Linked DNA regions of Homo sapiens: all the other regions are linked to region 4. The links are contacts of gene promoters, found by promoter capture Hi-C in blood cells and fetal thymus (Javierre and others, 2016). All regions are on one chromosome and are shown on one strand. The core of a region is centred on a gene start or on the middle of the fragment in contact, and the rest is flanking DNA. Distances in the headings are between cores, read along the strand shown. Region 1 overlaps ZNF561-AS1 (ZNF561 antisense RNA 1). Region 2 has its middle 23 kb from the start of ZNF699. Region 3 has its middle 17 kb from the start of OR7E24. Region 4 holds the start of ZNF266 (zinc finger protein 266). Region 5 has its middle 20 kb from the start of OR7D2.

Evidence for each region. Contacts are between HindIII fragments. The CHiCAGO score rates a contact against its expected background, and 5 or more counts as called.
Region 1: a contact is called between a fragment that was not itself captured here and the fragment with the promoter of ZNF266 in region 4, in 7 of 17 cell types (erythroblasts, naive CD4 T cells, fetal thymus and 4 more). The highest score is 8.9, in erythroblasts.
Region 2: a fragment that was not itself captured here is called in contact with the fragment with the promoter of ZNF266 in region 4 in 1 of 17 cell types (activated CD4 T cells); the score reaches 5.1 in activated CD4 T cells.
Region 3: a fragment that was not itself captured here is called in contact with the fragment with the promoter of ZNF266 in region 4 in 1 of 17 cell types (activated CD4 T cells); the score reaches 5.9 in activated CD4 T cells.
Region 5: a fragment that was not itself captured here is called in contact with the fragment with the promoter of ZNF266 in region 4 in 1 of 17 cell types (megakaryocytes); the score reaches 5.7 in megakaryocytes.

What each region holds. Positions count from the first base shown.
Region 1 is chr19:9,621,704-9,626,780 of GRCh38, reverse strand. All of the region lies in intron 1 of ZNF561-AS1 (ZNF561 antisense RNA 1), which reads right to left. Among named protein-coding and RNA genes, the nearest start is that of ZNF561-AS1, 2.8 kb to the right of the region's middle. The HindIII fragment of the contact is 3,033 bases long and covers 769-3,801 here.
Region 2 is chr19:9,284,738-9,289,866 of GRCh38, reverse strand. No RefSeq gene overlaps it. Among named protein-coding and RNA genes, the nearest start is that of ZNF699, 23 kb to the left of the region's middle. The HindIII fragment of the contact is 4,986 bases long and covers 646-5,129 here.
Region 3 is chr19:9,264,992-9,270,172 of GRCh38, reverse strand. It overlaps the pseudogene OR7E19P. Among named protein-coding and RNA genes, the nearest start is that of OR7E24, 17 kb to the right of the region's middle. The HindIII fragment of the contact is 650 bases long and covers 2,516-3,165 here.
Region 4 is chr19:9,433,504-9,438,178 of GRCh38, reverse strand. It overlaps ZNF266 (zinc finger protein 266), which reads left to right and starts at 2,606. Exons shown (of 11, transcript NM_001370374.1): 1 at 2,606-2,895; 2 at 2,986-3,071; 3 at 3,320-3,381; 4 at 3,944-4,104; 5 at 4,393-4,511. It overlaps LOC105372269 (a long non-coding RNA gene), which reads right to left and starts at 2,538. Exons shown (of 3, transcript XR_007067133.1): 1 at 2,407-2,538. RefSeq lists an enhancer at 2,686-2,815. The HindIII fragment of the contact is 21,418 bases long and covers 2,302-4,675 here.
Region 5 is chr19:9,196,065-9,201,106 of GRCh38, reverse strand. No RefSeq gene overlaps it. Among named protein-coding and RNA genes, the nearest start is that of OR7D2, 20 kb to the right of the region's middle. The HindIII fragment of the contact is 2,921 bases long and covers 4-2,924 here.

The sequences.
Region 1 (5,077 bases), core at 1,036-3,535, 190 kb before region 4:
TCTCAAAAAAAAGAAAAAAAAAGAACGATTAAACAGAATTACCATGTGATCCAGATATTCCACTTTGGCATATCCAAAACTGTTCAGAGCAGGGACTCAGAGATATTTGTACACCAATGTTTGTCTCACTAGTATTCACAATAGCCTACCCCTGCCAAACTGCAATTTTAACACACTGGATTGTTTGAAACATAGCCTGAACAAGCCTATTTTTAGCCATTTCGAGTGCGCCTGCTTTGTATTCTCTGAAATTATATCCAATATCTGACAGCCATAGATAAGATAACTCCAGGGCTATGAAAACCCCATACCCCTGCGGTCCTTCAGAGCTTTTTTTTTTTTTTTTTTCTGATGCAGGGTCTTGCTCTGCCACCCAGGCTGGAGTACAGGGGCACAATCTCAGCTCACTGCAGCCTCCATCTCCTGGGTTCAAGCGATTCTCCTGCCTCAGCCTCCCAAGTAGCTGGGATTATAGGCACCTGGCACCATACCTGCTAATTTTTGTATTTTTAGTAGAGACGGAGTTTCACCATATTGGCCAGACTTATCCTTCAGAGCTTTTTAACTGGAAGATATGCTGCCAGTCTGGTGAATATCATCATTTAGTTATTTATAAGCCCCCTCTTTGATTCCCCTTCTCCTCTGAGAGTCTTTCTTCCTTTCCACCCTTTCTGAGCAGCGACCCACAGGTAGAAGCCTGTGGATATTCTCTTGCTGTTTGCTACCTCCCCCACTGCTAACCTGTCAAAGCACATCCCAAATGAAGCTTGTGTGCTACTGCCGCCTTGTGGTAACATCTTTTTCCTTACTCAGCCAAGAAATCACTTAAACACCCTAAATACGTGTGTGGTTTTATTTTTTACACTTAGATCCCTAGTCCACTTGGAGTTTATTCTTGTATATGCTGTGAAGTATGGATTTAATTTCATCTTTTCTCAGATGGCTAACCAGCTATCTTAGACCTTCCATTTGTTACAAATGGCATTTTTTGCCCCATTTATCTGAAATGCCACTTTTTTTTTTTAGACGGTGTTTCTCTCTTGTTGCCCTGGCTGGAATGCAATGGCACGATCTCCACTCACCCCAACCTCCGCCTCCTGGGTTCAAGCGGTTCTCCTGCCTCAGCTTCCTGAGTACCTGGGATTATAAGCATGTGCCACCATGCCCAGCTAATTTTGTATTTTTAGCAGAGACGGGGTTTCTTCATGTTGGTCAGGATGGTCTCTAACTCGTGACCTCAGGTGATCCACCCGCCTCTGCCTCCAAAAGTGCTGGAATTATAGGCATCAGCCAATGCACCCGGCTTTTTTTTTTTTTTTTTTTTTTTTTTTTGAGACAGAGTCTCGCTGTGTCGCCAGGCTGGAGTGAAATGGCGTGATCTCGGCTCACTGCAACCTCTGCCTCCCAGGTTTGAGCAATTCTCTTGCCTCAGCCACCCGAGTAGCTGGGCTTACAGGCGCCCACCACAACGCTTGGCTAATTTTTTTTTTTTTTTTTTTAGACGGAGTCTCGCTCTATCGCCAGGCTGGAGTGCAGGGGAGCGATCTTGGCTCACTGCAACCTCCGCCTCCTGGGTTCAAGCGATTCTCCTACTTCGGCCTCCTGAGTAGCTGGGATTACAGGCACCCGCCACCATGCCAGCTAATTTTTCTATTTTTAGTAGAGACGGGGTTTCACCAAGTTGGCCAGGATGGTCTCGATCTCGTGACGTCGTGATCTGCCTGCCTCAGCCTCCCAAAGTGCTGGGATTACAGGCATGAGCCAGCATGCTCGGCCATGCTTGGCTAAATTTTTTTTCTTTTTTGAGACAGAGTCTCACTCTGTTGCCCAGGCTGGAGTGCAGTGGTGCGATCTCAGCTTACTGCAACCTCCGCCTTCTGGGTTCAAGCAATTCTCCTGCCTCAGCCTCCTGAGTAGCTGAGATTACAGGCATGCATCACCACACCCAGCTAATTTTTGTATTTTTAGTAGAGATGGGATTTCACCATGTTGGTCAGACTAGTCTCGAACTCCTGACCTCATGATCCGGCTGCCTCGGCTTCCCAAAGTTCTGGGATTACAGGCATGAGCCACCGAACCCGGCTATGTTTTTGTATTTTTAATAGAGATGGGGTTTCACCATGTTGGGCAGGCTGGTTTTGAACTCCTGACCTCAAGTGATCCTCCTGCCTCAGTCTCCCAAATTGCTAGGATACAGGCATGAGCCACCGCATCTGGCAAAATACATTTATGAACCAAATTTCTACATGTTCATGGGTCTATTTTTTGATATTTTATTAGTTTCTGTTTCACGTGCTAGTACCACATAGTTTTAATTATAGAGGCTTTATAGTATGTTTTTTAAATTAATTAATTAATTAATTTTTTAGACAGAGTCTCACTCTGTCAGCCAGGCTGCAATTCAGTGGCACAATCTCGGCTCACTGCAACCTTCATCTCCCAGGCTCAAGCAACTCTCCTGCCTCAGCCTCCCAAGTAGCTGGGATTACAAGCATGTGCCACCACGCTTGCTAATTTTTGTACTTCTAGTAGAGACAGGGTTTCACCATGTTAGCCAGGCTGGTATCAAACCCCCGACTTCAGGTAATTTGCCTGCCTCGGCCTCCCAAATTGCTGGGATTACAGGCGTGAGCCACTGTGCCCGGACTTTATTTTTATTTTAAAATAATGTAATTCTTTGCCTTGCATGAAAACTGTCAATAGTATGTTTTAATATCTGCTGCTCATCATTGCTTTTGTTTTTGTTTTCTTGGTTATTATCAGATGTTTGTTCCTCCACATAAACTTCAGTATCAATGTACTTAACTCCAGAAAAAAACTTTTGGTATTTTTATTGGGAGTATGTTACATTTCTGAATAATCTTGGGGAGAATGTCTGGTATCAGTGCTATTTTACAACGTAGGAAATGTGTTCCTGGCCCATGTGGTAAGATCAGAAAAATAACAACAGAAATACATATTTTTGGCTGGGGCAGTGGCTCATGCCTGTAATCCCAGCTCTTTGGGAGGACCAGGTGGATGGATCACGAGGTCAGGACTTTGAGACCAGCTGGGTCAATATGATGAAACCATGTCTGTATTAAAAATGCAAAAATTAGTTGGGCGCAGTGGCACATGCCTGTAGTCCCAACTACTCAGGAGGCTGAGGCAGAAGAATGGCTTGAACCCAGGAGGCAGAGTTTGCAGTGAGTGAAGATCGCACCACTGCACTCCAGTCTGGGTGGCAGAGCGAAACTATGTCTCAAAAAAACAAAACAAAACAAAACATTTTTTAATTTAAATTTTTTTTATATATATATAGAGAGATGGGGTTTTGCTGTGTAGCCCAGGCTTGTCTTAAACTCCTGGCCTTAAACGATCCTACCATCTTGGCCTGGCAGATATTTTAGGCCAGGAGTTCGAGATCAGCCTGGCCAACCTGGTGAAATCGTTCTCTACTAAAAATACAAAAATTAGCTGGGCGTGGTGGCAGGCGCCTGTAATCCCAGCTACTCCAGAGGCTGAGGCAGGAGAATTGCTTGAACCTGGGAGGTGGAGGTTGCGGTGAGCTGAGATCACACCACTGCACTCCAGCCTGGTCTGATCCAGTGAGATCTGTCGCAAGCAAGCAAGCAAGCAAGAAAGAAAAAGAAAACCCAATGGAATCAGCAGGTTCTAAAAAATAAAGAATGAAGAAAAAAAGGCCTACAGAAACTCTGACTGAATGGAAGGGATAGACCATGCCATTCATTGGCAGCTTTATCAATATGGAAGAATCATGGAAAGGCTCTAGGAACATGAGGAGAGGCATACAAACAAGCTTTATATTTATATCTAAAAAGTAAAGCAGAGGTTCCTCTTCAAAGACGTTCCTTCACATTTAATTAGGAATAAATAGTAACTTCTCTTAGAAGCAAAATTTATTCAAAGACCTGTGCTAACATTCTCAAGTATCTGTGAGCCGTGATAAAGAAATCAATGTACTTTATATTCTTAGCTCCCACAGTTTAGTCTACATATTTGCCCTGGCATGCTTGTACTGGTCCAGGCAAGCATTAGGGCATAGCCTGTTCTTTTTCCTTATTTGAAGATGTTTTGACCCTTCTCAGCATTCCACAAGTTACTTCCTCCTTCCTTTGTTCTCCTCTACCCTTGCCTCTTTTAAAAAGTTATAAGTTGCTAGCCAGAACGTGAGGTCCCATTCCAGCCAGTGGAAACTGGACACAGCAGTAGGTTGGAAGCATCAGGTTATAAATGACCCTATCTCCTTTGTTTGGTGTACTCTCGTGGCAAAACTGCTGGTGAGTATACCGTTTCTGCAGGAAGTAAAAATGGCCTTGCTGAGTAAATTAAATTTATGTTCAAGTGCTAATTTCTTTATGGCACCAGGGAACAAGCATTTTGAACATGTATATTTATATATTTTTTATATATTTATATATTTATATGTATTTATACATATATGTTTATATATATATATATAGAGAGAGAGAGAGAGAGAGAGACAGGGTCTTGCTACTTTGCCCAGGCTGGTCTCAAACTCTTGGACTTGTAGAAAATGAAATAAATACAGGTTCCTCTTCAAAGGGACTTTCCTCCCAGTCTGATTGAAATAAATAGTAATCCCTCTTAGAAGCCAAATTTTCTCAAAGACCTGTGGTAATATTGTTAAATTCTGCCAGCCGTAATAAAGAAATCAATAGACTCTGTTTTTAGCTCCCACATTTTAGCCTAGATATTTGCCCTGGCATGCCTGAACTGGTCCAAGCAACTATTAGGTCATGGCCTATTCCTTTCCCTATTTAGAAGTGTTTTTGCCTCTCTCAACAGTCCACAAGTTACTTCCTCTCTTCCTTTGTTCTCCTCTGCCATTGCCTCTTTTGGGAAGTTCTAAGTTGCTAGCCAATCCAGTGAAGTACAGGAAGGTGAGGTCCCGTTCCAGCCAATGGAAGCTGGACACAGCAGAAGGATGGACACTTCAAGTTTAAAAAAACCCTGTCTCCTTTGTTAATGTGTGCTCTGGTGGCAAGACTGCCAGCCAGTGGCACCCATTCTGCAGAAAGTAAAACTAGCCTTGCTGAGATCCTTTGTCTCAGTG
Region 2 (5,129 bases), core at 1,889-4,388, 150 kb after region 4:
TAAAATATGAGCAGAGGCTTTAAACATGCTTGTGTAGTTTGGTTTGCTAACTTTAGCACTTCTGGCACTGCTACAGACACAAGAGTAGCTAAATGGCTCAGTGGAGCCCAATGCAGATCAACTCCCAGATTTGTGAGCTAAATAACATGCTTGATGTTTTGCCTCTGGGATTTTTGTGATCATTTGTTAGGCAGCACATTGGAGCAATAGCTAACTGATACACACATTGGCTAACAACTCCCAAATTCAAATCATGGCTCAGACTCCTCCTCTGAGCTCCAAACATATATTTGCATGGCTGATAATCATCTTCAAAATAACATGCCCCAAATAGAACTTTTCTTTAGCAAGCTACCCTTATCATACCTGTTCCACCCTTATAAATGACACTGTACTTCCAACTCAAATTTATGACTAGTCCTGGATTGCTTCCTTTCCTTTATGGTGACAGACACCTCATAGTGACTCAAACATTTGTAAAATGAATGAGTACAGATATCTAAGTGTTCTGCTACCAGGATATGTGGGACACAGTATTCTGGTCAGTTCTGTCTTCAAATTCACTATCCACACTAAGTCTTTTGAAATGCGATAAGACTTAACCCAGCACCCCACTCTAAGAGGCCCAAAGTACCCAGAGAAGCTTCTCAATTAGTTGTGTTTCTGTTATCTTCCTCAATCATAAAATTTTTGGCTAATATGTAAAAATCTGAAAGGTGTTAAAAAATAAGGAATAAGAACCAGTCTATGTTTAGCCTTGGGCAGATGGATTATCAACATTGGCTGTAAATTAAAGCCACTCAGTATCACCAGAAATGCATATAGGAAGTGATACTAGCATGGCTGGGGTGGAAGCAGGGACTATATCCTTTCTGTGGGATCAGAAACACTTCTTCCACTATCCTAAGTTCTTATTTTATTTTTATTTTATTTAATTAATTATTTTTTTGAGATGGAGTCTCACTCTGTCTCCAGGCTGGAGTGCAGTGGCGCGAGCTCGGCTCACTGCAACCTCCACCTCCCAGGTTCAAGGGATTCTCCTGTCTCAGCCTCCCGAGTAGCTGGGATTACAGGCGCATGCCACCACACCCAGCTAATTTTTGTATTTTTAGTAGAGACAGGGTTTCACCATGTTGGCCAGGATGGTCTCGATCTCCTAACCTTGTGATCCACCCGTCTCGGCCTCCCAAAGAGTTATTATTATTACTATTATTATTATTATTTTTGAGACAGAGTCTTGCTCCGTCACCCAGGCTGGAGTGCAGTGGCATGATCTCAGCTCACTACAACCTCTGCCTCCTGGGTTCAAGTGACTCTCCTGCTTCAGCCTCCTGAGTAGCTGGGATTACAGGTGCACACCACACCTGGCTAACTTTTGTATACTTTCTTTAGTAGAAACGTGGCTGGTAACACAAGGTGATATTCACACAAGTGCATAAAATGGTCAGGAGGTAGAGAAAAGACTTTTCTGGGACTCCTTGACATGGGAGCCTCATGTACTCTGGTTCCAAGACTGGTAATGGAGTCCTAACAGGGGCTATAGTTAGATTGCGAGGATATGGAAATACAATTGTTGATGGGATTATGGTGAATATTTGAAAATTAGTGTTTATTATTATTTTGAGACAGGGTCTCACTCTGTCGCCCAGGCTGGAATGCAGTGGTGTGATTATAGCTCACTGCAGCCTGGAACTTCTGGGCTTAAGTGATCCACCCAAGTGGCTAGGACTACAGGCACACACCACCATAACTGACTAATTTTTTACTTTTTTTTTTTTTTGTAGAGATGGGGTCTTGCTATGTTGTCCAGGCTGGAAGACCTGGATTCAAGTGATCCTTCCGCCTCAGCCTCCCAAAGTGCTGGGATCATAGGCATGATATGAGCCACCACGGCTGAGGAATTTTCAAATGTACAATACATTATTATTAACTATAGTCACCATACAGTACAATCAATGTCCAGAAATTTTCTTCCTGTCTAACTGAAATTTTGCACCCTTTGACCAACATCTTCCCATTTCTCCACCCCATCCTCCAGCCCGTGGTATCAACCATTCTACTCTCTGCTGCCGAGAGTTTGACTTTTTTGATTCCACATATCAGTGAGATCATGCAGTATTTATTATCATTTTTATTTCAATAGGTTTTTGGGGAACAAGTGGTGTTTGGTTACATGAATAAGTTCTTTAGCGGTGATTTCTGAGATTTTGGTGTACCCATCACCCGAGCAGTGTACACTGTTAACCAATGTGTAGTCTTTTATCCCTCACCCCTCCCACCCTTTCCCCCAAGTCCCCAGAGTCCCATGTATCATTCTTATGTCTTCATGTAGTCATAGCTTAGCTCCTGATCACACAGTGTTTATCTTTCTGTTCCTGTCTAGTATGTGAGGTGATGGGTATGTTAATTAGCTTTATTTCATCATTCCATAATGTATACATATAACAAAACACATAGTACCCCTTAAATATATACAATTATTATTTGTTGATTAAAAATTTTAAAAAGAGGACCTAAGGTGGAGGCATCACATTTCATGATTTCATTGCTATATTACAAAACTACTGAATCAAAACAGTATGTTAGTGCCATAATAGCAGACACATAGACCAATGGAACACAATAGAGAGCCTAGAAATAACTCCATGTATGTGCAGTCAACTATTTTTCAACAAAGACACTAAGAATACCCAATGGGGAAAGGATAGTCTTTTCAGTAAATGGTGGCGTGAAAACTGGATATCCGTATGCAAAACAGAAAAAAAAGAAGAAATTTGACTCTTATATACAAAAATCAATTGAAAATGCACGAAAAACTTAAATGTAAGACATGAAGCCATAAACCTTCTCAAAAAATATATATAGGGAAAAAGCTCTTTGACATTGGCCTCAGTAATGATTGTTTGCATTTGATCCCAAAAGCAACATGGAGCTGGGCATGATAGCTCACGTTTGTAATCCCAGCACTTTGGGAGGCCAAGGCGGGAGGATTGCATGAGGCCAGGAGTTTGAGACCAACCTGGGCAACATAGTAAGACCCACATTGCTATTAAAAGTAAATAAATAAATAAAAGCAATATGGTTGAACCTTGAAAACATTATGCTAAGTGAAATAAACCAGACGCAAAATGACAAATATTGTATGATTCCACTTATATGAGGAAACATGAACAGGGAATTCATAGACACAGAAGGAGCAATAGAGGTTGCCAGGGCCTGGAAGCAGAGGAGAATGGGAGGTATTATTTCATGCGTATAGGGTTTCCATTCAGAAATGATGAAAAAGAATGGAAGATGGATAGTAGTAATGGTGCACACCATTGTGAATGTACCTAGTGCCACTGAGTCTCCTTTTTTTTTTTTTTTTTGAGATGGAGTCTCACTCTGTCGCCCAGGCTGGAGTGCAGTGTCGTGATCTCGGCTCACTACAACCTCCGCCTCCCGGGTTTAAGCGATTCTCCTGCCTCACCCTCCCTAGTAGCTGGGATTATAGGTGCACACCACCAGGCCTGGCTAATTTTTGTATACTTTTTTTTTAGTAGAAACGTGATTTCACCATGTTGGTTAGGCTGGTCTCAAACTCCCAACCTCAGGTGACCTACCCACCTCAGCCTCCCAAAGTGCTGGGATTACAGGCATGAGCCATCGTGCCCGGCAATGTGCTGCTGAGTCTTACACTTAAAATGGTCAATTTTGTTATACATATTTTACCACAATAAAAATATTAATAAAGGCCAGGTGTGGTAGCTCATGCCTGTAATTCCAGCACTTTGGGAGGCTGAGACAGAAGAATTACGTGAGGCCACAAATTCTAGACAGTCTGGGCAACATAGTGATGCCCTGTCTCTACAAAAAAATAAAAAAAATTAGTGGGGCATGGGGGCGCAGCCTGTACTCCCAGCTACTTGGAAGGCTGAGGTGAGAGGATAATTTAAGCTCGGGAATTTGAGGCTGCAGTTAGCTGAGATTGCGCCACTGCACTCCAGCCTTAACAAGAGTGAGACCTTGTCTCAAAAAGAAAAAAAAATTAATAAAAACTTTATTATTTATTTATTTTAGATTAATAAAAACTTTAATAAATAAAACTGTTGTAATTTTTTTTTTTCTGAGACAGAGTCTCACTCTGTCCCTCAGGCAGAGAGCAATGGTGCGATCTCAGCTCATTGCAACCTCCGCCTCCCAGGTTCAAGCAATTCTGTTTCCTCAACTTCCTGAGTAGCTAGGATTACAGGCGTGTGCCACCACGCCTGGCTAATTTTTGTATTTTTAGTAGAGACGGGGTTTCACCATGTTGGCCAGGCTGGTCTCAAACTCCTGACCTCATGATTCACCCGCCTCGGCCTCCCAAACTGCTGGGATTACAGGCGTGAGCCTCCGTGCCCGGCCAACTGTTAAAATTTTTTTTAAAAAGTAGATTCTTAGGTCCTCCCTTGGAGATATTGACACGGTAAGTCTGGGATAGAGTGGGAAGCTATTACCCTGGGATCCCCCAGGGTAGCATGGTGAAACCCTGTCTCTAAAAAAAAAAAAAAAAAAAAAAAAAGAAAAGTAAAAACTAGCTGGGCATGTTGGTGCACTCCTGTAGTCCCAGCTACTCAGGAGGCTGTTGTGGGAGGATTGCTTGACCCCAGGAAGTTAAAGCTGCAGTGAGCTGTGATCACACCACTGCACTCCACCGTGGTGACACAGCAAGACCCTGTCTCAAAAACAAAAACAAAAAACTATAGTATTTTTTTTTTAAAGTAGACTCTTAGGTCTTCCTTTGGAGATCTTGGCAAGGTAAGTCTGGGATAGGGTAGGAAGCTATCTGTTCACAAGATCCCCTCTTTATACCTTTGATAAATCTCAATTTGTGAAGCACTGCCCCAGGACACTGGTTCCCAAAAAGATTGTCCTGGGGACCATCACATCTAGAATGTGTCCCAAATGCAAATTATGACTCAAATTTAGACCTACTGGGACAGAAACTTGAAAGTGGGTTCTAGCAATCTGTGTTTAAACAAGTCCTTGAGGTCATCTGGTGCGGGCTCCCTTTTGAGAACCACTACCTTTTTGTGAATCCTGGGACCCTTTGCTACCCAACTATCTGCCTAATTAGGAAACCTCAAGTCAGAAAATGCTGCCCAGGT
Region 3 (5,181 bases), core at 1,591-4,090, 170 kb after region 4:
GACCGGCAAGATGATCCCTTGATAACTGAGTGGAAATCGGAAGCTGCAGGGGAGATTTGTTGTTCTCAGGCATAGAGTGGCTGCTGGTTGGCCTGATGTCAATGGCAGGACTCTACAGGGGTAAGAGAATCCAGGGAGGCTTCTGTGCACTGCTTGGTCAGGTGGGTACTCAATGTAGAAGAAGTTCTGCCCAAGTGCCAGTTTTTCCTTCCAGACATTTTTTTTTTTTTGGAATTTTTTGGTTGTGATCATAGTGGTGTGATGAATTGGGAATTATGCTGGATATCTGCAGAGTGTTGCTGTGCTTAGAGTACAAAACCCTGATAGAAGATGAAGCCTGCGGGTGGCTCCTAAGACCCTTCCAAGGGTCCCTCCCTCCTAGTTTTCATGCCCGAGTGTCATCTCCTCTTCTTGAGTGTGGGCTGGACTCCATGAGTAGCTTCTGATGACAAGAATATGGGGATCTCTGTGTTCCGATTGAAGGTTGAAACAACAGTAGCTTTTTTTTTTTTTAACTGCCACTCTGTGGCCCTGTTGCTTGATGTTTTAAAATAAAAAAAAACCTATTATTTATTTTTGCATAATGAAGTATTGAACAATCCATTGCTTGATATTAATGGGAGTTAACTGCTCCATCAAGAGGACTAGAATAGACATTTCTCTAAAGAAGATAAACAAATAGACAATGAGCATACAGAATGGCCGGGTGCAGTGGCTCACGCCTGTAATGCCAGCACTTCGGGAAGCCAAGCTGGGTGGATTGCTTGCAGTCAGGAGTTTCTGTTCTGAAAGAGAAATATATTGATGCATGACGGTGGTGGTTGCACAACACTGTGGATGTACTTAATGCCAGCAAACTGTACAGTGAAAAGTGGTTAAAATGGTATTGGTTACCATTTTGAAGAGGATAAATGGTAAAATGTTACTTACCATTTTGTATAAACCTATATTTATAATTTTTATATTGAATGTGGTACATTTTGCCAGGATAAAAATATGAAAACTTAAAAAAGATGCATCCTTGAAAAAGAAAAAGAAATGAAAGAAGTGAACGATGAACACAAGCTTTCTCCTCATTAGAGGAAGAGCCCAAAAGTTCCTGGGGACGTTCATTTTTTCTGCTTTATCTTGCATTAATGAGGAAGTCCTTAAAGACTGGGGAACTTGGGCCAGTTTGGCTAATGAGGAGCTCTGTGCCTTGAGCCCCCAAGGCCATAGGACAGTAAATACTCAGCCTGTGCCTCCAGCCCTGCAGTGTGAGCTTCCAGTCCAGTGGGCTCCACACCTGTCGTCTGCATCAGGAGGCTCATGTCTGACCCTGTCTTCCTGCCAGTCCTGAGGACGGAGCCTGAGCCTCCATCGTGCACCACACAGGGAGGACGGCGGACCTGCTCTCCGTGGTCATGGCCCAGCAGAGGGGAAGCGCAGCTCAGTGAGTGCTGAGGGATGGTCGGGAGCCTTGTTTCCTCATCCTCAGGACAAACAGGACAGTGGGGTGGCAGATGGGAGGAAACCCACGTGCAAAATGTCAGCTCAGACGACCGTGGAGTTTATGTTCTGGGTTGTGATTGGTCTCAGAAATCTCATTCAAAGTTTAACTTTTCTTCCACACTGGTTCAACTTCCCAAAGACATCTCACTCGTAATAGCGTGTTCCCTAAGCATGCCAAAAGGATTATGAAGGTGATGATGAGGATGAGGAGGAAGACGATGGTCACCAGGCTATCATGAACTTTTACTGAGGACTTCTTGATGTTCTATGAAGCCTGTTCTCTTTCATCTGCTTAGTCTTCCCTGAATTATACCTGCCGCATTATTCTTAATTATAGAATAGGAAAGGAGCCGTCTAAGTCCAGACACATGGCATTGGGCCAGGCCTCTCTCTGAGTCCAACCTGCCCTCTCAAATCCCTGTCAGTCCTGGCAGATGCCCTTGCTCACTGTGCCCTTCCCTTGGGGGGTTCCTGGTAGACCACAGCTAGACTAGAGGGTGCTACATTCATAGTATCACGTATAGAAAGGGCAGCTGAGATCACATCAAAGATCCCAGAAAGAACTGGCACAGGATCATTCAGGGTGCATCTCTCCCTTTCCCCCGTTCCTGGCTTTCCTTGCAGCTCTCCACCTCCTCAAAGGAGACATAAAATCAGGGTCTTGGCTCCATTTCTATTCAGGAAGCTGGAACTCGTTTCTAAATGCACCCCAGAAGTGCCTGTAGTTAAGACCTCCCACCTCTGCTTAAGACTTTCTGAGAGCTGAACAATAATGAAGAAGGGTAGTGCCTGGGCCTCAGAGACGGACCATTTAGTTTTGAATCTGCCCATTTCCCTGAACTCTGTGACACGGGGTGAGATCTCTGTGTCTCTGAGACTCAGCACTATCATCTGAGCTGATTTCTAGTTGACCCAACTACAGTGAGTGATGATTCAACAGATCATGGGTGTTCTCTGCTGATCTCTATGTGATGGATACATAAAACCAAAGTGAATTTTGATATTCTTATTACTATTTTAAGCTTAATCTTCATACAATTGAACTGAAATGTCCTCTGGCCTGAAGTTACAGTTCCCTACATCCCTGACAGGACATTTGACATTTGCACCTATCTAAGTAAGTGCTGAGTATTATGAGAGGAATGTTTGCATCTCTTTCGTTTCTGATCCCCCAGAGCCTATATCTTGCCAGTCCCAAAGGAGGCATCAAAAATAAAGTTCCCCGTTAAATACTGGATAGGCCCTTCCTTGGATCACAAAAAATTGGCTGTGATTAGTGTGACCTCAACACAGTTGGTGGTTTCTTGTCTGTCCCCTCATCCCTTTAGGAATGTCTAATAAAATGAGATACAAGATAACACCTGTTTATGTCTATGTCACAGACACAGGGACCTTAGAATTCCATTTAATAGCATCTGCAATGTTCAAGTACCTAAATACCATCGCAGAGATTTTTGTAGCTATATCAGAATGAAGAAAGGCACAAAGAGAAGAGGGCAGGTAGACCTGATTCTCGTGCTTAGACACAATTTTGAGTTTCGCATCATTCCAGGCTAAAATAAAATAAAGAGAAAATGTTATTAAACTTCATTATTATTTAGTGATGACACATGCATTACACATTATCGATAGCTGTGTGGTTGCTGAAGGCCTATGATTATGTGCAACAAAGCTTTCTTATCAAAACCCAAAGAAAACATGAGCCAAGGACAAGAGCTATATATTAAATAAATTTGGAAACATAGCTCCTATATTTGAGTGTGCATTTACTTGTGTGAAGAAATGATGTCAGAAAACCTAAGAATGATAAAAAATATGAAAAGTAATTGGCATGTAAAAAGGTCTTCTGATTATGAACTAGCAGGTCTGTTTTAGTTTCTAGATAATGTGCTCCTAGCTCTTGTATAGTGTTTATAAATATTCTACATCCAAGGAGTTTGTAGCACAGTGTCAGAATAAAATGAATTATATTTCACTGCTTCTTAATTTCTTTTAATTAAATTGGGCTTTTTTTTTCTTAGAAAAGTACATTTCTTATTTTTTTTTTCTGAAAAGACTAGGCCATGTTTTATTGCAATCATGGATTTGTTATATATTACGTCCTTGATCTTTTAACATTCTTCAGTGGATTTTCTCTGAAGTAGGTATATACAGAAAGAGTTGAATAGCAAAAAAGTAAATCATGTAATAATTCTGAGATTTTTGGGTTTCTCACAATGGAGAAATATTGCTGAGGGTGTATGGTCTTCAAGTGTGAAAATGTTACTTGTGAATTGCTTGTATCCAAAATATGCACACAGCAGTAAGTGCTGATTTATGTCTTTTATTTTTTCAACCCTCTTTTCTTCTCAAGGTGTCCAAGTTACACAGACTCGCAGAATCTCACAGGTGTCTTAGAATTTCTCTTCCTGGGACTCTCAGAGGATCCAGAACTGCAGCCCGTCCTCGTTGGGCTGTTCCTGTCCATGTACCTGATCACGGTGCTGGGGAACCTGCTCATCATCCTGGCCGTCAGCTGTGACTCCCACCTCCACACCCCCATGTACTTCTTCCTCTCCAACTTGTCCTTGGCTGACATCGGACTCACCTCTGCCACCATCCCTAAGATGATTGTTGATATGCAATCTCACAGCAGAATCATCTCCTATGAGGGCTGCCTGATGCAGATGTCTTTATCTATTTTGTGTGTATGAATGACATGGTCCTGACTGTGATGGCCTATGACCAGTTTGTGGCCATTTGTCACCCCCTACGCTACCCAGTCATCATGAATCCCCATCTCTGTGTCTTCTTAGTTTTGGTGTCTTTTATTCTTAGCCTGTTGAACTCCCAGCTGCACAATCAGATTGTGTTACAATTCACCTGCTTCAAGAATGTGGAAATCTTTAATTTTTTCTGTGAGCCATCTCAACTTCTCAACCTTGCCTGTTCTGACAGTGTCATCAATAACATATTCATGTATTTAGATAGTGTTATATTTGGTTTTCTTCCCATCTCAGGGATCCTTTTGTCTTACTATAAAATTGTCTCCTCCATTCTAAGAATTCCATCATCAGATGGGAAGTATAAAGCCTTCTCCACATGTGGCTCTCACCTGGCAGTTGTTTGCTTATTTTATGGAACAGGACTTGGAGCCTACCTCAGTTCAGCTGCGTCCTCTTTCCCCAGGAAGGGTGCGGTCACCTCAGTGATGTACACTGTGGTCATCCCTATGCTGAACCCCTTCATCTACAGCCTGAGAAACAGGGACATTAAAAGTGCCCTGTGGAGGCTGCACAGCAGAACAGTCTAATCTCATTATCTGTTCCATCCTTTCTGTAGTGGGGGCTGAAATATATTGCAAAATCAAACATGTCTATTTGCAAATTCTGTCTCTTTGGTCACATTATTTTTGTTGCTTGTTTGCTTTCGTTTCTCTCCATGTTTCATGTATGAATATTGCTTCCTTTTTTGGGTCTTTAGTTGGAACGGGTGAGTATTCTGGTATCATTTGTTCATCATAAACATCACAAGCGGATCCCATATACCTCAACAGCGTCCTTGTGTCTAGGAGTGTCTGAGCAATGACACTGGTGTCCTGGTGATATCACAACTCACAGCTCCTTTCTGAGCCTCAGATTTCTCTGCAGCAAAGTAAGTGCAATAGCCTTTTTTTCCCCCAAGGCCATGCAATGATTGCATATCTTTTTA
Region 4 (4,675 bases), core at 1,357-3,856:
GAGGATCGCTTGAGCCTAGGAGGTAGAGGCTGCAGTGAGCTGTGATTTCTCAAAAAATAAAAGCCAGTATGCACAAAAAGATATATGTGAATTTTCATAGCAGCATTAATCACAACACCCCCAAAGTGGAAACAAACCATATGTCCATCAACTGAAGACAAATCATATATGGTATATACATAGAATGGAATATCATTCAGCAATAAAATAGAATGATCTAGGCTATAATACAGATGAACCTTGAAAAACGGGCTAAGTGAAAAAAGTTATTCACAAAAGATTGTATGATTTTTAGGCCGGGCATGGTGGCTCACGCCTATAATCCCAGCACTTTTGGAGGCCGAGGCAGGACTACTTAAGCCCAGGAGTTCGAGATCAGCCTTGCAACATAGTGAGACCCTGTCTATACAAAAATAAAAATAAATTGTATGAGTATATCCATATGAAATGTCTACAAAAGAAAAATCTGTAGTGATAAAGTAGGTTTGTGGTTCCCTGGAGCTTAAAGAGGAGGTAAATGGGTTTTCCCATTCAAAGATTTCTTTTAGTGTGATTAAAATGTTCCAAAATTATGTTTGAACAACACTGCGAATGTACTAAAAAATATTGAATTATATAGCTTTAAGTGGGTGAACTGTGTTGGTTATATGTGAATTGTATCTCAATACAGCTGGTCTAAAAACCAAAAGGGAAAAATCACAATAATAGCCACATCATTGGGAGCGTAAAAATTTAATGTCTATTAAGCATTTAGGGTAGTAAGATTTAAAAAACAGCTACCGCCAGGTGCGGTGGCTCACACCAGCACTTTCAGAGGCTGAGGTGGGCAGATCACCTGAGGTTAGGAGTTTGAGACCACCCTGGCCAACATGGCGAAACCCCATCTCTACTAAAAAAAAAAAAAAAAAAAAATACAAAAATTAGCTGAGCGTGGTGGCGCGTGCCTATAATCCCAGCTACTCAGGAGACTGAGAAAGGAGAATCCCTAGAACTCAGGAGGTGGAGGTTGCAGTGAGCCGAGATCGTACCACTGTATTCCAGCCTGGGTGACAGAGCAAGACTGTCTCAAAAACAAACAAACAAAAAAGCTACCATTATTATTATTATTACCACGGAATATTATTAGTTGATACAAAACCACTGGAATGAAAAGATTATGATCTTGATATTGGCATAAGTAAATGTATTACTGGCATAGAGTCTAGAATCAGATACAGGTATACATAGGAATTTATAGTTTAATAAACATGGAATTTGAAATCAGTAAATCAAGGACAGTTTATCAATATGTGGTACTACAATAATTGGCCGTGTTTCTGGAGGAAAGAGATATTGTATCCACTATCCCACACCACATACTGAAACACATTCCATGAGTATGAAAGATTTCAATGTTTTTAAAGTAATATGCTGCAGAAGAAAATTAGGAAATCTATATGTAATCTAGAGTTTATGAAGACTTCTTAATGCAAGAGAGGAAACTTAAAAAAGAAAATCTTTTTGAGTTGAAAAATTAACTGCAAAATAGTTACCAGTTCAGTAGATTCACAAAATATTTGATAATGTACATGAACAGTTCTTCATGTTAGTAAAACAGTGTTCAAAATAACTTTATTAACTCCATAAAGGCCACCCACTACAAAGCACAGCAAAAACGATTTCTGGAGAAACTAGAATCACTCCTGCAGAAGTGAATGCCTGATATCAGTGCTATTTTACAACGCGGTATTTTACAACGAGGCCCTGGAACTCACTGTAAGATCTCAGAAAACAATATATTAGTCAAAGAAAAAAAAATCAACATTTACAAAAAGTATCAGCATATTGAATACACAAAGGAATCAACTATTAGAATTTAGCATGGCGTCCAGATAAATGAAATAAGGGGAAATATTGGCCTCAAGTTGAATTGGGCCCGGCGCCGTGGTGCACGCCTGTAATCCCAGCCTTTTGGGAGGCTGAGGCGGGATGATTGTTGGAGCCCAGGAGTTTGAGATCAGCCTGGGTAACATACCTCAACTCTGGGGGAAAAAAAATTAGCCGGGCATGGTGGCCTGCGCCTGTAGACCCAGCTACTCGGGAGGCTGAGGCGGGATGATGGCGTGAGCCCATGAGTTTCGCCCCACAGCACGCCAGCCTGGACTACACAGTGAGACCCTGTCTCAAACAAAAACAAAATAAAAAACTAAAACTAGATTGAATGAATGGAGGAGATAGGCCATATCATGGACTGGCAGGATTATCAAAGGAAGCATCATTTTGAGGGTGCTAGGAACGTGGGAGGAGGTGAGAATAAAAGCTTTTTGTGAGCATTGTGCACATCCTGTGGGGGAGCCCCCACCTCTAACTTTGCCAACACCACCGACCCCACCCTAGGTTAGCCCCGTCCGCAGGGCTGGTTCTAACCTCAGCCTTGTGCTCTGGGCCCCTTTTGGCCTCCATCCCTCAAGGTGAGCAGACTCCAAGGCCTCCAAGGCGTCTCCGTAGCCACTGGGGAGTAAACCAGAATCTCTCTGCCTGAGGTTGTTCAGCTCGGCTGAGGTTGCAGTTCCCGAGCGCTCCTCCAGGTTTGAGGCTGGAGGCGGAAGTGACGTCACGGAGCGCTGCTGTGTTTTCCGGCGCTTTCTCCGCGCCGCCAAACCCGTTTTCTTCCTGGTGGCGTTTGGGCTTAATACAGCTTTGGCGAGGTCGGATGACGGGTGGGAGCCAGCGGTGGAAGGGGTGGCGAAAGTACCGGTTTGCCCCAGGCCGCCGAGGGGCCTCCTTAGAGAGACCTTGCCTGCTCCGCTCGCGTCCGCCGGGGCCGCGCGGGTCCTCCTGGCGCCGCCAGGTTCAAAAAGCCACTCGAGTTGTCACTGCGACGGCCCTGGGCCAGGAGCCGTTTCGGGATCTGTCGTAAGGGCGCTTCCTCACGATTTTTGCAAACACGGTGATTGCCGCTTCAAACTCTTCCAAAGCAATTCTTTGTGACTTTTTTTTTTCCAGAAACAACGAGTTTTCGTCGTTCGAATCAGGTTGACTGGTCCTTCATCCCCCCAATCTCCCGTACCTGGCGAGTCCAGCTCGTCGCGGTGAGTACTGGGGTGAAAGTTGGTTTCGGGGGCTTCTTCCTCCTGTTTTATCTGAGAATTTGTTTTTCTCTTTGCGCATCCTGTATTTACTTTTGACACTCTACATTCAGGTAGAAACATAAAGCTATTTTTTAGGTATCTGGGGTGTGGTTATTTCTCTATGTGAATATAAACGTTTGTAGACCAGAAGTCTTTCTACTGAAGAAAAGCAAGAATACTCAGCTATTCTTTTTATCTGAACTTCCTAGGCCTGTACCTCCCCACAGAGCTTCAAAACGGGCTTTTAGGAAGAAGGAATGGAGGCTTTGAAGTAAGTTGAACATTGCAGGCGTGACACTTAAGGTTTAAATGCTTGGTAATACGTGTCCTGTGGATAAAGACATGTCCTTTTAAAACCATAATACTATTACCCCAGAAAATTTAAAATGTTGTTAATATGTACCCTGTGTAAAAAGGTACAGTTCTCCACTTTGTTCCAATATATGGTTTTGATTGTTTTGGGATCTATTACGTATCCAAGTTTCATGTCTTTTAGTCTCTTTAAAACTAGCAGACACTGTTTATCCGTTATATTGTCTTTTTGCGCAGTCACTCGTTCTTTCAGAAAGTTATACATTTTGGTAGTTCTGATTGTATTCTGTGCCGTGTTTAAATGTATCCTTCATTTATTGGTGTATCCTGTAAATGGATGAGTGTCTGAATGGTTAATTAAGGCATAGTAAAAAAATTCAGCCTAGGGCTGTTCTTAGGGAGGTTGTAAACTAGTGGAGGAGGCTGTCATGTAACCAAGCAAATAAGTGTATTACAAATTGATGAAGGTCTGTAAGTAAAGTAGAGGACAGAATTATTTTCTCTATTTTTCTTTGGAATAGGCAATGCTAAGAAAAGAGTGATATGCAAGCTGAGACCAAAAATATGGTATGATTTAGCCATACTGAAGGGGAAGGAAATAAGAGCTGGGCAAAGCATTCTGTGAATTGGCTGACTCCACTTCTATGGTGAGAGAGAGGAGTGCATCAAAGATTACTCCCAGGTTTGACAGAGTCAGTATTCTTTCTTTGGTTGGGGAAACAATGTGGTGGGATAATTTAATCTTAAATGTATGACAGGAAATAGTAAGTGATATCTTTTGGGAGACAGAGTTTCGCTGTTGCCAGGCTCCAGTGCAGTGGCAGGATCTCGGCTCACTGAAACACTGTAACCTCCACCTCTTGGGTTTTCAAGCCATCCTCCTGCCTCAGCCACCCTAGTAGCTGGGATTACAAGTGTGCGCCACCATGCCTGGCTAATTTTTGTATTTTTGTATTTTTTTTTTTTTTAGTAGAGATGGTTTCAGCATGTTGGCCAGTCTGGTCTCAGACTCCTGACCTCAAGTGATCCACCCACCTCGGCCTCCCAAAATGCTGGGATTACAGGTATAAGCCACTGTGCCTGGCCAAAGTAAGTGATATCTGACAAATGATGTAAATCAAGGGAAAATAGGAGAAGCATGAATGTGTTTTAATTACATGAATAAGAAATTAATTCAAGGGATTAATGAGAATCAGTGCTTGATCACTGAAAAATAAGCTCTCCATGAAAATTCACTGATGTTAATTATTAGT
Region 5 (5,042 bases), core at 215-2,714, 240 kb after region 4:
GCTTATCTTTCTGTGCCTGGCTTATTTCATTTAAATTGATGGCCCCCAGTTCCATCCAAGTTGTTGCAAATGACAGGATCTCTTCCTTTTTTATGGCTGCATAATGCTCTATTGTGCACATGTACACAATTTCTTTGTCCATTCATATGTTGAATGGATGGTGAATGCTTAGCTGCTTCCAAATCATGGCTATTGTGACTAGTGCTGTAATAAACATGGGAGTGCAGATATCTCTTCAATATATGGATTCCCTTATGGGGGGGTATATACTTAGCAATGGAATTGCTGTATCTTTTGTTTGTTTGTTTGTTTTGAGATGGAATCTCGCTCTGTCGCCTAGGCTAGAGTGCAGTGGCGCGACCTTGGCTCACTGCAACCTCCGCCTCCCAGGTCAAGCGATTCTCCTTCCTCAGCCTTCCGAGTAGCTGGGACTACCGGCGCCCGCCACCACGCTCGGCTAATTTTTTGTATTTTTAGTAGAGACAGGGTTTCACCATGTTAGCCAGGATGGTCTCGATCTCCTGACCTCGTGATCCACCCGCCTTGGCCTCCTAAAGTGCTGAGAATACAGGCATGAGCCACCGCACCTGGCCCGGAATTGCTGCATCTTATGGTAGCTCTATTTGTAGTATTTTGAGGAAACTCCAACTCGTTCTCCATAATGGATGGACTAACTTGCATTCCCACCAACAGTGTGCAATTGTTCCCCTTTCTCCACATCCTTGTGAGCATTTGCTATTGCCTGACTTTTTGATAAAAGCCATTCTAAATGGGGTGAGATGATATCTCCTTGTAGTTTCGATTTGCATTTCTCTCTCTCTCTTTTTTTTTTTTTGAGATGGAGTCTTGCTCTGTCACCCAGGCTGGAGTGCAGAGGCACGATCTCAGTTCACTGCAACCTCTGTCTCCCAGGTTCAAGTGATTCTCCTGCCTCAGCCTCCTGAGTAGCTGGGATTACAGGTGCCCACCACCATGCCCAGCTAATTTTTGTATTTTCAGTAGAGATGGGGTTTCACCATGTTGGCCAGGCTGGTCTCAAACTCCTGACCTCAAGTGATCCACCCGCCTCAGCCTCCCAAAGTGCTGGGATTACAGGCATGAGCCAATGCGCCTGACCTGCATTTCTCTTAAAAGAGATTTTTATTTCTGATGCCTCCTCTGTGTCAAGCAGGTTAGAGACTCTGGAGAATTAGAGATGAAAGAGACTCAGTTGTTTCTGTCACAATAATCAGTACTTAATTATATAAGGACAAAAATAAAATGTCCTGTGGGAAGTACAGAAACAGTAACTTCAGGTCACAGGATATTTCAGTTGAGTGATATAAAGATTAATCTTAAAATATTAATAACAATTTCTAGAATACACGTTGCCTTTACTTTATGCATCCATCACAAATAGATCCCACAGGGAGCCCCCATGATCTGCTTAATCAATACTGAATGTATCTGTGTCAACTAGAAATCAACTCAGGTGGCAATGTTGAGTCTCAGAAACACTAACATCTTGCCCCCTGCCACACAGATAAGTGGAATAACAGGATTTTAAAAAAATTATAGGTTGATGCAAAAGTAATTGAGGTTTTTGCCATTACTGTTGTCACCAACCTAATAAATGATCAGTCTCTGAGTCTCAGGCATGAACCTTTTTTATGTTTCCCAGCTATCAGAAAGTTGTAAGCAGAGGTAAGAGGTCTTAACCACAGGCACATCGGAGGTGCATTTTCAAACTGTTTCCAGATTCCTGAGTAGGAATGAGGCCAAAACTCTGATTTTATTTCTCCTTTCAGGAGGTGGAGAGCTGCAAGGAAAGCCAGGAACAGGGGCAAGGGAGAGATGCACCCTGAAGGATCCTGTGCCAGTTCTTTCTGGGATCTTTGATGTGATCTCAGCTGCCCTTTCTATACTTGATACAGTGAACGTAGCACCCACTGGTCTAGCTGTGGTCTACCAGGAACCCACTGGTAAGCAGTGAGCACACCAGGGGTCCAGAGTGACAGGGATTCGAGAGGGCAGGTTGGATGCAGGAAGAGGCCTAGCCAAATGCCATGTGCAAGGATTTAGATGGCCTGATTCAAACATGGCTTTACTCCTCTCTACTTCATGAAATACTACAAGTTACATAAAAATGCACAGCTCCTTTCCTCGTGCAAAATAATAATAATGTGTGCACTTATGGATTGCAGAAGGCTATGCAGATAAAATGAAACAAACCACATAGAACACAGAACTGGGCGCCTGGCATTCAGGAAGCCCTCAGGAAAAGTTCATGATGTCATAGTGACTGTCCTCTTCCTCCTCATCCTCATCATCAGCTTCATAATCCTTTTACAGTGTTCATGGAATAGCTTAGAGAGACCTATTTTTTCCTAGCTTCAGTGAGATGTCTATAGCAAGTAGAACCAGTGGAGGGAGAAAGTAAAACTTTGAGTGAGATTTCAGAGTCCCCACCACAATCAAGAACATAAACTCCACAGTTGTCTGAGCTGATATTTTGCACATTGATGTCCTCCTATCTGCCACTCCACTGTCCTGTTTGTCCTGAGGATGAGGAAAGAAGGCTCCCGACCATCCCTCAGCACTCACTGAGCTGCGCTTCCCCTCTGCTGGGCCATGATCATGGAGAGCAGGTCCGCTGTCCTCCCTGCGTGGTGCACGATGGAGGCTCAGGCTCCGTCCTCAGGACTGGCAGGAAGACAGGGTCAGACATGAGCCTCCTGATGCAGACGACAGGTGTGGAGCCCACTGGACTGGAAGCTCACACTGCAGGGCTGGAGGCACAGGCTGAGTATTCACTATGCTATGGCCTTGGGGGCTCAAGGCACAGAGCTCCTCATTAGCCAAATTGGCCCAAGTTCCCCAATCTCTAAGGACTTCCTCATAATAATTCAGGAAGAAGAAGAGAAAAATGAGTGTCCATAGAAGCTTTTGGGCTCTTCCTCTAATCAGGAGAAAGCTTGTGTGTATTATTCACTTTTTTCTTTTCTTTGTAAAGATCCAAATGCTTCAATTTTCATCTTTTATTGTGGTAAAATATACCATGTGTAAATATTAAAAAGTATAAATATATATTATTTTATATAGAAGGGTCAATATAAACAATTTCCACTATTTTTAAGTTTACAGTTTAATGACATTAAGTACATTTGTATTGTTTAGCAACCATCACCACCATCATCTCCAGAACATTTTTATCTTTCAAAATGGAAACTGTGCCCATTCAACAAACTCTCCATTCCTCTCTCTCGCCCACTCCTTGGGGCCACCATTCTGTTTTCCAACTCTATGAGTTTAACTACTCTAGATATTTGATATCAGTGGAATCATACTGTGTTTATCTTTTTTTGAGACAGAGTCTCATTCTGTCACTCAGGCTGGAGTGCAGTGGCGTGATCTTGGCTCATTGCAACCTCTGCCTCCCAAGTTCAAGCAATTCTCCTGTCTCATTCTCCCAAGTAGCTGGGATTACAGGCATGTGCCACCATATCTGGCTAATTTTTGTATTTTTAGTAGAGACGAGCTTTCGCCATGTTCGCCGGGCTGGTCTCAAACCCTTGACCTCAAGTGATCCGCCTGCCTCAGCCTCCCAAAGTGCTGGGATTACTGGTGTGAGCCACTGAGCCCAGTTGTGTTTATCCTTCTGTGATTTATTTACTTCAGTGATGATAATGTCTTCAAGGTATGTACTTTTGTATAAAAACCAAAGAGTTGGCTGGGCGCAGTGGCTCAGGCCTGTAATCCCAGCACTTTGGAAGTCTGAGGTGGGCAGATCATGAGGTCAGGAGTTCGACACCAGCCTGGCCAATATGGTGAAACCCTGTCTCTACTAAAAATACACAAATTAGCCAGGCGTGGTGGTGCGCACCTGTAGTCCCAGCTACTCAGGAGGCTGAGGCAGGAGAATCTCTTGAACCTGGGAGGCGGAGGTTGCAGTGAGCCAAGATTGCACCAGTGCACTCCAACATAGGCGACAGAGTGAGACTCTATCTTAAAAAAAAAAAAAAAAAAGAGTTATGTTTGTGCAGTAGAATGAATCATTTTCTTTCATCTTTTCCTAATTTCCCCTCACATGAAGAGTCCACTTAATGGAAACAGGAGGATACTATTTTCTGAGTTTTTTTTTAATGTGCAACTGAAGAATGTCTACCATCACTTTTTAATGTATTAACCTTCATTATTTGCAGAATCTTTCAAAACCTTTCTTTTCTTATGTGATTTTTTTTTTATACTTTAAATTCTAGGGTACATGTACACAACGTTCAGGTTTGTTACATATGTATACACGTGCCATGTTGGTGTGCTGCACCCGTTAACTCATCATTTACATTAGGTACATCTCCTAATGCTATCCCTTCCCCTCCCCCCACCCCACAACAGGCCCCGGTGTGTGATTTTCCCCTTCCTGTGTCCAAGTGTTCTCATTGTTCAATTCCCACCTATGAGTGAGAACATGCGGTGTTTGGTTTTTTGTTCTTGCGATAGTTTGCTGAGAATGATGGTTTCCAGCTTCATCCATGTCCCTACAAAGGACATGAACTCATCCTTTTTTATGGCTGCATAGTACCATGCTGTATATGTGCCACATTTTCTTAATCCAGTCTATCATTGATGGACATTTGGGTTGGTTCCAAGTCTTATGTGATTCTTTATCTGTAAATACTGTTTAAGAAATCTAGATCCCATTCAACGGTTCTGATCAAACACTAACAAACCATACGTTTTGTTTCCAAGGAGTTCTCTGTATAAGAGGAATAGGGCTTCAGTGAGGAAAGAAAATATGGTTTGAACAGATATCAAATTGCCTTCACTCTCATAAGTCAGTGTACAATTACTTCATTGTTATATGAAGGAGAGCTGTCCTCACTGTGCAAGGTTGTGAGTATATAGATAATGATATTCATTCTCTGCCCTTGTGTAAATATAAAAAAGAGACAGTCCGTCAGCCATCCAGGATAATGAACAACAGGAGTTCAAATAATTTACTTGAAATGCATTGATCTAAGTGTAGATGATGACAATGATATCTACATTTACTAATTTCTTAT